Linked DNA regions of Homo sapiens: regions 2 and 3 are each linked to region 1. Evidence: promoter capture Hi-C in 16 types of primary human blood cells and fetal thymus (Javierre and others, 2016). All regions are on one chromosome and are shown on one strand. The core of a region is centred on a gene start or on the middle of the fragment in contact, and the rest is flanking DNA. Distances in the headings are between cores, read along the strand shown.

Evidence for each region. The method cuts DNA at HindIII sites, captures the fragments that hold promoters and counts their contacts. A CHiCAGO score of 5 or more calls a contact.
Region 2: a contact is called between the fragment with the promoter of DCAF15 here and the fragment with the promoter of DDX39A in region 1, in 3 of 17 cell types (naive CD4 T cells, naive CD8 T cells and non-activated CD4 T cells). The highest score is 7.6, in naive CD4 T cells.
Region 3: a fragment that was not itself captured here is called in contact with the fragment with the promoter of DDX39A in region 1 in 12 of 17 cell types (total CD8 T cells, naive CD8 T cells, M0 macrophages and 9 more); the score reaches 10.5 in total CD8 T cells.

Annotation. Positions count from the first base shown.
Region 1 is chr19:14,417,499-14,420,590 of GRCh38, reverse strand. DDX39A (DExD-box helicase 39A) reads left to right here and starts at 1,250. Exons shown (of 11, transcript NM_005804.4): 1 at 1,250-1,321. RefSeq lists a silencer at 1,421-1,520 and enhancers at 1,641-1,780, 2,191-2,250, 2,621-2,670. The HindIII fragment of the contact is 5,494 bases long and covers 136-3,092 here.
Region 2 is chr19:13,950,858-13,953,949 of GRCh38, reverse strand. DCAF15 (DDB1 and CUL4 associated factor 15) reads right to left here and starts at 1,441. Exons shown (of 13, transcript NM_138353.4): 1 at 1,306-1,441. The coding sequence starts at 1,437. It also overlaps a transcript of PODNL1 not described here. RefSeq lists a silencer at 1,219-1,358 and an enhancer at 2,019-2,068. The HindIII fragment of the contact is 10,644 bases long and covers 1-1,961 here.
Region 3 is chr19:14,076,120-14,079,211 of GRCh38, reverse strand. No RefSeq gene overlaps it. Among named protein-coding and RNA genes, the nearest start is that of MIR1199, 4.3 kb to the right of the region's middle. The HindIII fragment of the contact is 1,703 bases long and covers 577-2,279 here.

The sequences.
Region 1 (3,092 bases), core at 1-2,500:
CTTTACCAAATTTTTAAAAATTAGCTGGGCATGATAGGTAACAAGAGTGACACCCTGAAGAAAGAAAGAAGAAAGTGGAGGGAAAGAGGGAGGAAGGATGATAGGAAAATAAATCTGCCAGGATCTAATAAAGCTTAGTGACCATGCCACCATGCCACTCCTAAGTATTTAAAAGAAATGAAAATTTATCTTCCCCAAAATACTCTTACAGTACAAGCTCTATTAACAGTGGCCAAAGACCGGAAACAATCAATTGGCCAAGAACAGGTGAGTGAAACTATATTGGCTACATTATAGTATAGCCACACAATGAAATACCACTCAGCAGTAAAAAATAACGAGCTGTTGATATCCCCACAACATGGACAACTCTCAAAAACACTTTGCTGCGGCCAGGCAGGGTGGCTCATGTAATCCCAGCACTTTGGGAGGCGGAGATGGGCAGATCACATGAGGCCAGGAGTTCGAGACCAGCCTGGCCAACATGGCGAAACCCCTCTCTACTAAAAATATGAAAATTAGCCAGGTGTGGTGGCGGGCGCCAGCAGTCCCAGCTACTCAGGAGGCTGAGGCAGGAGAATCGCTTGAACCCGAGAGGCGGAGGTTGTGGTGAGCAGAGATCGCGCCACTGCACTCCAGCCTAGGTGACAGAGCCAGACTCCGTCTCAAAAAAACAGCTTTGTTGAGCAAAAGTCAGACACAAAAGACAACCTATTGCATGCTTCTACTAACGTGAAAATCAAGGAGACAAAACTATCGTGGAGCGATAGAAATCCAAATACTGCAAAATGTTCTGTCCATTTGAGTCATTCCAAGCTCCCTATTCTTTTCAGAGCCTACACTGTGGAGGACCCCCAGGCCGCAGATTGATAGCAACTGGGACAGTTCTGGTTTCAGCGCCCAGCGCAGACGCCACTCTTCGAAAAGGTGGGGCACACGCCAAAACGCAATCATCCGGTCTTCAGTTATCAGTACTAAACATGGCGGCTCCCACCGAGCACCACACCCAGATCACGAGACCGCGCGCTGTCGGAGCCAGTCTGTCGGCTCACTGGGGCGCGCCTACTTTTAGATTGACCAATAAACGCGAGGCGTAAGGCACGCCCTCTTTCTTCCCGTCTCCGCCAATAATCTCCCGGTCCCTTCCACAGGACCCAATCACCGCTTCGGCCTCTCTTGAATGAAAAGGCAGCGGCCCAGTCAGCAGAGCAGCAGCCCGACGCAAGAGGCAGGAAGCGCAGCAACTCGTGTCTGAGCGCCCGGCGGAAAACCGAAGTTGGAAGTGTCTCTTAGCAGCGCGCGGAGAAGAACGGGGAGCCAGGTGAGCAGCGGATCCCGGGCGCGGGGCCGCGGTGTGGGGACGTCTGAACTGAGAGCGAGAGGACGAGGGGAGACGTTGGGATCTAAGGGGAGGGGGAGAAAGGGTCGCGAGACGGTGGGGGCGGGGCGGTTGGTGTGTCAGAGCGCTGTGTGTTGGCCGTTGGGCACCGGGGCGCATGCGCTAGGGGTGGGCCAGCCGTTGGCGCGCGGTGCTCGGGGCTCGGGGCCCGCTTCTCGGAGGGGCTGTCATGGCCTACGGCGCTCCGAGCCCCACTTGGAGTCTGTCAGTTCGTCCGAATAGACCCCGCGGCGGCCTGGGGCCATTTGGAGAGGGACGAGGGGGTGACGCCGGGGTCTGGGGCCTGGGTGGGAGAAGTTGGAGCTTTCAGTTGTCAGGGGTTTCTTTGGGTCCGAGGGACTTGATCCCTTTCCCAGTCTACCTTCTTCTTGGTCTACTTTTTACGGGATTCGGGATTCTGAGATTTAGAGCAAATAAGACTTTATTTTGGAAGGCCGGGCGCGGTGGCTCTTGTAATCTCAGTACTTTGGGAGAGACCAAGGAGGGCGGATCACTTGAGGTCAGGAGTTCGAGACCAGCCTGGCCAACATGGTGAAACCTCGTCTCTACTCAAAATACAAAAAAAAATCAGCCGAGCGTGGTGGCGAGCGCCTGTGGTCCCAGCTACTCGGGAGGCTGAGGCACGAGAATCGCTTGAACCCGGGAGGTGGAGGTTACAGTGAGCCGAGATCGCGACACTGCACTCCAGCCTGGGTGACAGAGCGAGATTCTGCCTCAAAAAAAACAGAATGAAAAAAAGATTTTCTTTTGGAAATAGGAGTCCCCAGGTGGGAATAAACTCCGGGGTGGAAAGCCTGCCTGGGGACACTTGAGGGTAACTGGGTACACGTGGCGTGTCTGGGTTGTGAGTTCCCCGCTGTCACCTTTCAAGTTCATGCGCTCCTGGCGCCTTAGCGGTCATGGCCACCCACTTTGGGCGGGGAAAACCCCGCCGGATCCTTTCCTGATCTAATCAGTTTTGAGCTTTAGATCCTGTCCAGCCCGGTTTCTCGAAAATTTTATCTTAGCAGATTCGGTTCACCCCAATTTATTTATCTCTCTCTCTCTTTTTTTTTTTTTTTTTTTTTTTTTGAGACAGAGCCTTGCTCTGTCGCCCAGGCTGGAGTGCAGTGACACTATCTCGGCTCACTGCAGCCTCCGTCTTCCGGGTTCAAGCAAGCACATCCGGCTAATTTTTGTATTTGTAGTAGAGACGGGGTTTCACCATGTTGCCCAGGCTTGTCTCTAATTCCCGACTTCAAGTGATCCGCCCGCTTCGCCTCCCAAAGTGCTGGGATTACAGGCATGAGCCACCACGCTGGGCCCCAATTTCTTTTTTTAAATTTATTTTTCTTGAGAAAGGGTCTCCCTCTGTCACCCAGGCTGGAATGCCATGGCGCCATCACTGGCAGCCTCGACCTCCTGGCTCAAGCGATCCTCCCGGCACAGCCTCCCAAGTAGCTGGGACTACAGGCCCATGCCACCACACCGGGCTAATTTTTTTCTTTTTTTAATTTCTACTTATTTATTTTTTAGCCTTTGCTACATAGAAGGTGCCCCTTGGGCTATGTGTTTTTTAAGTTTTTTTAAGTTTTAGGGTACATGTGCACAACGTGCAGGTTTGTTACATATGTATACATGTGCCATGTTGGTGTGCTGGACCCGTTAACTCGTCATTTGCATTAGGTATATCTCCTAATGCTGTCCCTCCCCC
Region 2 (3,092 bases), core at 192-2,691, 470 kb after region 1:
GGACAGAGTCCTGACCTGCACCCATCTGTTCCCAACCCACCAGCCTTCAAACAAGGGGGCTCCTCCTCCCCGGGGCAGCTCTGGCCTCTGCTGGGGGCCAGTCGAGGCAGATAGAAGGGTGAGCCTAACCAATGACCCAACGCCCCCTTCCCAATTAACTACCGCCTTCCAACGGAATCCAAGGGAATCCCTCATCCCCAAAACTTCACCGCGGAAGGATCTGCGGGGACTGACAGGCAGAAGCCAGGCACAGGGATATCCGAACAGCCTCAGTCTTGCTACCCAACTCTGCCTTCAAGACATTCCAATCTGATGGGAAGAGTCCTGTCTGGGAAGCTCCCTGTCTGATGGGAGACAGCCCTGTCCACATGGAGGTCTCAGTCTGACGGAGGAAACAGCCTGGCCAGCCAGGCCCAGGCCGACAGGGGAGACACAGTCCCTGCCCAAGGAGCTTCCAAGCTAAGGGCGGAACCACAGCCAAGCCCAGGGAGCTCCCAGGCTAAGGGCGGAGACTGTCCCAGCCCAGGGAGCTCCCAGTCAAAAGGGGGAGACACAGCACTGCCCTTACAAAGCTACCAGCCTCACGGAGAAGGCGCAGTCCCTGTCCACAGAGACACAGCCTTGCCCCAGTTACTGCCCACCTGCAAGAGATCCACATTTCTGCCCTCCAGAGCTCCCAAACTGATGGGGGAGAGAGACATCATCCCCCAGCTCTGGGAGTTTCCAGTCTGATGGAGGAGACAGAGCCTGCTTCGGTAACTCTCACTCTGCGGGGGAAGACTCAGCCCTATCCAGGGAGCTCCCACACTTTCAATGGGGAGGCCCACCCAGGTACTGGAACTCCCAGCTCATGTGTGGTCGGGGCTTGGGCAGGGAGAGGAACATCAGGCGGAGGAAGCCCAAAGCCAGCGGCAGGGGCTCTGCAAAGGGGGCGGGAAGGTTCCATTATGGAGCAACCATGGGAGCAGAGCTTTGAAAAGCCTGGATCGCCCCCTTCCTCCTGATTCTCCCTGCGGCCTCTGGGGTCGCCTCCCTCCGAGCCCCCTCCCTGGGGCCCCGCCCCCAACCCCCTCCATCCCAGCCCCTTTGCCGGTCACCCGACACAACCACCTGCATCCAGGCCCCCAACTGAGCCCCCTCCATCCAAGCCATCTCCCCCGGGCCCCGCCCAGGCCCTGCATCCGAGCCCCCTCCCCTGGGGCCCCGCCCCCAACCCCTCACCCCGCGAACGCCCTCCTCCCTCCGCCTCCCTCGTCCCTACTCCCCACCCTCCGGCGCGCTCCCCACTCCGGCTCCAGGCCTCACCTTGACCCGCTCCAGCTGCTTGAGGACGTGCTCCCGCCGCCGCCCTGCTGCCCGCTTCCCTCCGGCTCCCCCGGGGCCGCCGCCGCCGCTCCCAGCCCCGCTGTTCCGCTCCGATTTCGAGCTGGGCGCCATTTTCACCCCCTCCCTCCACTTCCGGAGCAACCGGCCCCTTCGCCCCACCCCTGCCGCCTCCTCATTGGTCCTTTTTCGGGACAGCGGCCCGCCGGTTGGGCGAAAGCCCGCACTCGCGCTATGCCTGTCCATCAAAGCCATCTCGACTCTTGATTGGTAGCGACAGTAACAGCCCCCGCGGCCCGTTGCCGTATTCCCGCCCCGCCTTAAGGACGTACCACTCGGAGGTCCCGTTTGTTCGCCCTGCCCAGATAACTTTGATCTGATAGGTGAATATCTCTGTCTGTCTCAACGGCGTCACGCCCCCTGTGGCTGGCGGGTTTCCATGGAGACCACAGGCGGTCCAGGCCCTTGGGCGGGGCGACGGGAGCCTGTGGTCCACCAAGGCTCGAGAATCCTCAGCCCCGGGCTGCCCGCGCCCGGTCCAGGTGGGCAAAGGCCTGACGAGCATACTTGGGCGGCAGAGCCAGGCCGAGGAAAGAGATTTACAAAAAAGGAAAAAACGATGGGATTCGATGAAAGCTTGTTTCCGATGGGCGGGTTGGTGGGATGATGGTGGTGATAATGATAGCATCAATCATGGATCGCTCCACATGTGACAGACACGGTTCTGAGCTTAAACAGTTCGATGTGGCAGGGCCCTGTTGTGCCAATTATGCAGATCATAGCAATAAAAATAATTGTTGAAGGTCCGCTCCGTGCATCATATTCGTATACATTACCTCATTTATTTTATTTTTTTAGACAGAGTCTCACTTTGTCACCCAGGCTGGAGTGCAGTGGCGTGATCACGGTTCACTGCAGCCTCGACCCCGGGCTCAGATGATCCTCTCACCTCAGCCTCTCATGTAGCTAGGACTACAGGCGTGCGCCACCACGCCTGCCTAATTTTTTGTATTTTTAGTAGAGACGAGGTTTCACTATGTTGGCCAGGCTGGTTGCGAACTCCTGACCTCAGGTGATCCGCCCGCCTAGGCCTCCCAAAGTGCTGGAATTACGGGCATAAGCCACCGCGCCCGGCCTAATTTTTTGTATTTTTTGTAGGGACGGAGTTTCACCAAGTTGTCCAGGCTGGTCTCCAACACCTGGGCTCAAGTGATCCTCCCACCTCTGCTTCCCAAAGTGTTGGGAGGACAGGTGTGAGCCCCCACCCCTGGCCAGCCCATTTAATCCTCTGAACAATCTAGAAGATAGTTTTTTTTTATTGTCTTCATTAAAAAAATTTTTTTTGTAGAGATGGGGTCTCACTATGTTGCCCAGGCTGCTCGAAAACTCCTGACCTCAAGGGATCATCCCGTCTTGGCCTCCCAAAGTGCTGGGATTACAGGCATAAACCACTGTGCCCAGCTGATTTCAAGGGTTTTAGGAGTTATGTACTAGAAAACCTAAGACCAAAATATGGTTTTTTAAAAATATATCACAACACAATATCACAACATATCTTTTTTTTTTTTTTTTTTTTTGAGATGGAGTTTTGCTCTTGTTGCCCAGGCTGGAGTGCAATGGCACAATCTCAACTCACTGCACCCTTCACCTCCCGGGTTCAAGCAAACGATTCTCCTGCCTCAGCCTCCCAAGTAGCTGGGATTACAGGCATGTGCCACCATGCCCGGCTAATCTTTGTATTTTTAGTAGAGACAGGGTTTCACTATGTT
Region 3 (3,092 bases), core at 179-2,678, 340 kb after region 1:
AGCCAGGAGACTCGCTTAAATCTGGGAGATGGAGGTTGCAGTGAGCCGAGATCGCACCACTACACTCCAGCCTGCGCAACAGAGCGAGACTCCATCTGAAAAAAAAAAAAAAAAGCCAGATGCAGTGGCTCACACCTGTAATCCCAGCACTTTGGGAGGCCGAGGCAGGCAGATCATGAGGTCAGGAGTTTGAGACCAGCCTGGCCAACATGGCGAAACCCCATCTCTACTAAAACTACAAAAATTAGCCGGGCATGGTGGCAGGTGCTGGTAATCTCAGCTACTCTGGAGGCTGAGGCAGGAGAACCGCTTGAGCCCAGGAGATGGAGGTTGCAGTGAGCCGAGATCGTGCCATTGCACTCCAGCCTGGGCAACAAGAGCAAGACTCCATCTCAAAAAAAAAAAAAAAAAAAAAAAGGAAAAGAAATCTAGCATTTCACATTTACAACATATCTCAATTCAGACTAGCCACAAGCAGCTCTAGACGGTCTCCTTTAAGTCAAATCCACTGTCTCTTAAGACAGGGTTTCGGGTGGGTGGTGACAGTACAGTACTGGAAGGGGAAGGAAACAAGCTTTGTTTCCTGGGTCCTGTTGCTGAGCAGCTTTCTACACCCTTGATTCTCAAACTTCCTAGTGTGCATCAGAATCACATGGAGAGTTTGATCATTAAGTCTGGGATGAGACCCAAGAAAGTGCTTTTTTTTCTCTCTCTCTTTTTTTTTTTTGGTAGAGACTTTGTCTTGCTATATTGCCCACACTGGTCTTGAACTCCCAGACTCAAGCAATTATCCCACCTCAGCCTCCCAAAGTGCTGTGATTATAGGCATGAGCCACCACACCTGGCCCCTGGAAGGCGCATGTCTAGCAATTCCCCAAGCATTGCGGATACTGCTGGTCCTGGTGCCACTACATTGAGAACTGCTGGTTTATATTTACTTCATGGTTCTCAGACTCAGCTGTATATTGTAATCACCTGGGAGCTTCAAAAAATACTGATGTCAAGCCCTTCCCCCATTCTGATTTACTTGACATATGGGGGCCTCAGTTGAGTTTAATATTCAGAAAAGTTAGAGAATCCCTCATCTATACTTAAGTAGTCCTGTCCACTCTTTTTTTTTTGGAGATGGAGTCTCGCTCTGTCACCCAGGCTGGAGTACAGTGGTGCAATCTCAGGGCTCACTGCAACCTCTGCCTCCTGGGTTCAAGTGATTCTCCTGCCTCAGTCTCTTGAGTAGCTTGGACTACAGGCATGCGCCACCATGCCTGGCTAATTTCTTGATTTTTAGTAGAGATGGGGTTTCTCCATGTTGGCCAGGCTGATCTCGAACTCCTGACCTCAGGTGATCCACTCGCCTTAGCCTCCCAAAGTGCTGGGATTACAGGCATGAGCCACTGCACCAGGCCTAATTTTTGTATTTTTAGTGGAGATGGGTTTTCACCATGTTGGCCAGGCTGGTCTCAAACTCCTGACCTCAGGTGATCCACCCACCTTGGCCTCCCAAAGTGCTGGGATTACAGGCATGAGCCACCATGCCCGGCCCCTGTCCACTCATGACATACTTAGTTCTTGGCTCCCCTGCTGGAAATTAAGACCAGCCTCTAGGTGTTTCCATTTTCCACCTTCCCAGGCTCTCTCCGCCTTTCTCTACATAGCTCCCACAGTCACAGTGAAGTATGCTGAGGATGGGGTCACTGGGCTGAGGATGGGGTCAGCTGATGAGCCCTTCATGGGCTGAGCTGCTCTTGGGTGCAGCCTTGTATCAGCATGACCTCTCTGTATTTTATGCATATGGATTTCACTAGACATTTGATGCCCCTATACAAGAGACAGAGTTGGACAGAGCCAAGAATTTGTTTTTGTTTAAGACAGAGTTTCGCTCTGTCACCCAGGCTGGAGTGCAGTGACACGATCTCAAGAGCCAAGAGTTGAAACAGCGATTCTAAAATGTTCCTGGGTTGGGTGTGGTGGTTCACACCTGTAGTCCCAGCTACTCAGGAGGCTGAGGCAGGAGGATCACTTGAGCCCAGGAGATCAAGGTTACAGTAAGCTGTGATCATGCCACTGCACTGCAGCCTGCGTGACAGAACAAGACTTGTCTCCAAAATTGAAAACATTTTTAAATTTAAACTTCCTGGGTCTCCCCTTTTCTGGTCTTAGTGAATTTTTTTTTTTTCTTAGGTTACAGATCTCACTCTCACCCAGGCTGGAGTGCAGTGGTTCAATCATAGCTCACTGTAGCCTCAACCTCCCAGGCTCAGGCGATCTCCTGCTAAGCTTCCAGAGTAGCTGGGACCACAGGCACATGCCACCACACCCGGTTAATTTTTTGTAGAGATGGGGTGGGGCAGTGTCTCGCTATGTTGCCCAAGCTGGTCTTGAACTCCTGGGATCAAGCAATCCTCCTGCCTTGGCCTCCCAAAGTGCTAGAATTACAGGCATGAGTCACCATGTCTGGTCCTCAGTGCACTTCTTTTTTTTTTTTTTAATATGGAGTCTTGTTCTGTCACCCAGGCTAGAGTGCAGTGGTGCAATCTCGGGTCATTGCAACCTCCACCTCCCGGGTTCACGCCATTCTCCTGCCTCAGCCTCCTGAGTAGCTGGGACTACAGGCACCCACCACCACGCCCGGCTAATTTTTTTTTTTTTTTTTGTATTTTTAGTAGAGATGGGGTTTCACCATATTAGCCAGGATGGTCTTGATCTCCTGACCTCGTGATCCACCTGCTTTGGCCTCCCAAAGTGCTGGGATTACAGGCGTGAGCCACCGCGCCAGGCCCTCAGTGCACTTCTAAGACACTGTAAAAATAGTCCCAGAATGTTAACTGTGCAGATACAGTTTTAGAGACAATTTAGGGTGTTCACCCACCCTCTTGAACCCCCATCCAGGGGAGAGAAATTAACCAGAGCTTGCAAATTGACAGCCACAGGCCCTATTGCAAACAGTTGTTGCTTGCCAACTTCCTTCCTTCCTCTCCTCCCGCACAACTTTAAAAGTTTTTTCTAGGCAGGGCGCCTAGAAAAAACTGGGAGGCTGAGGCCGGCAGATCACTTGAGGCCAGGAGTTCAAGACCAGCCTGGACAACATGGTG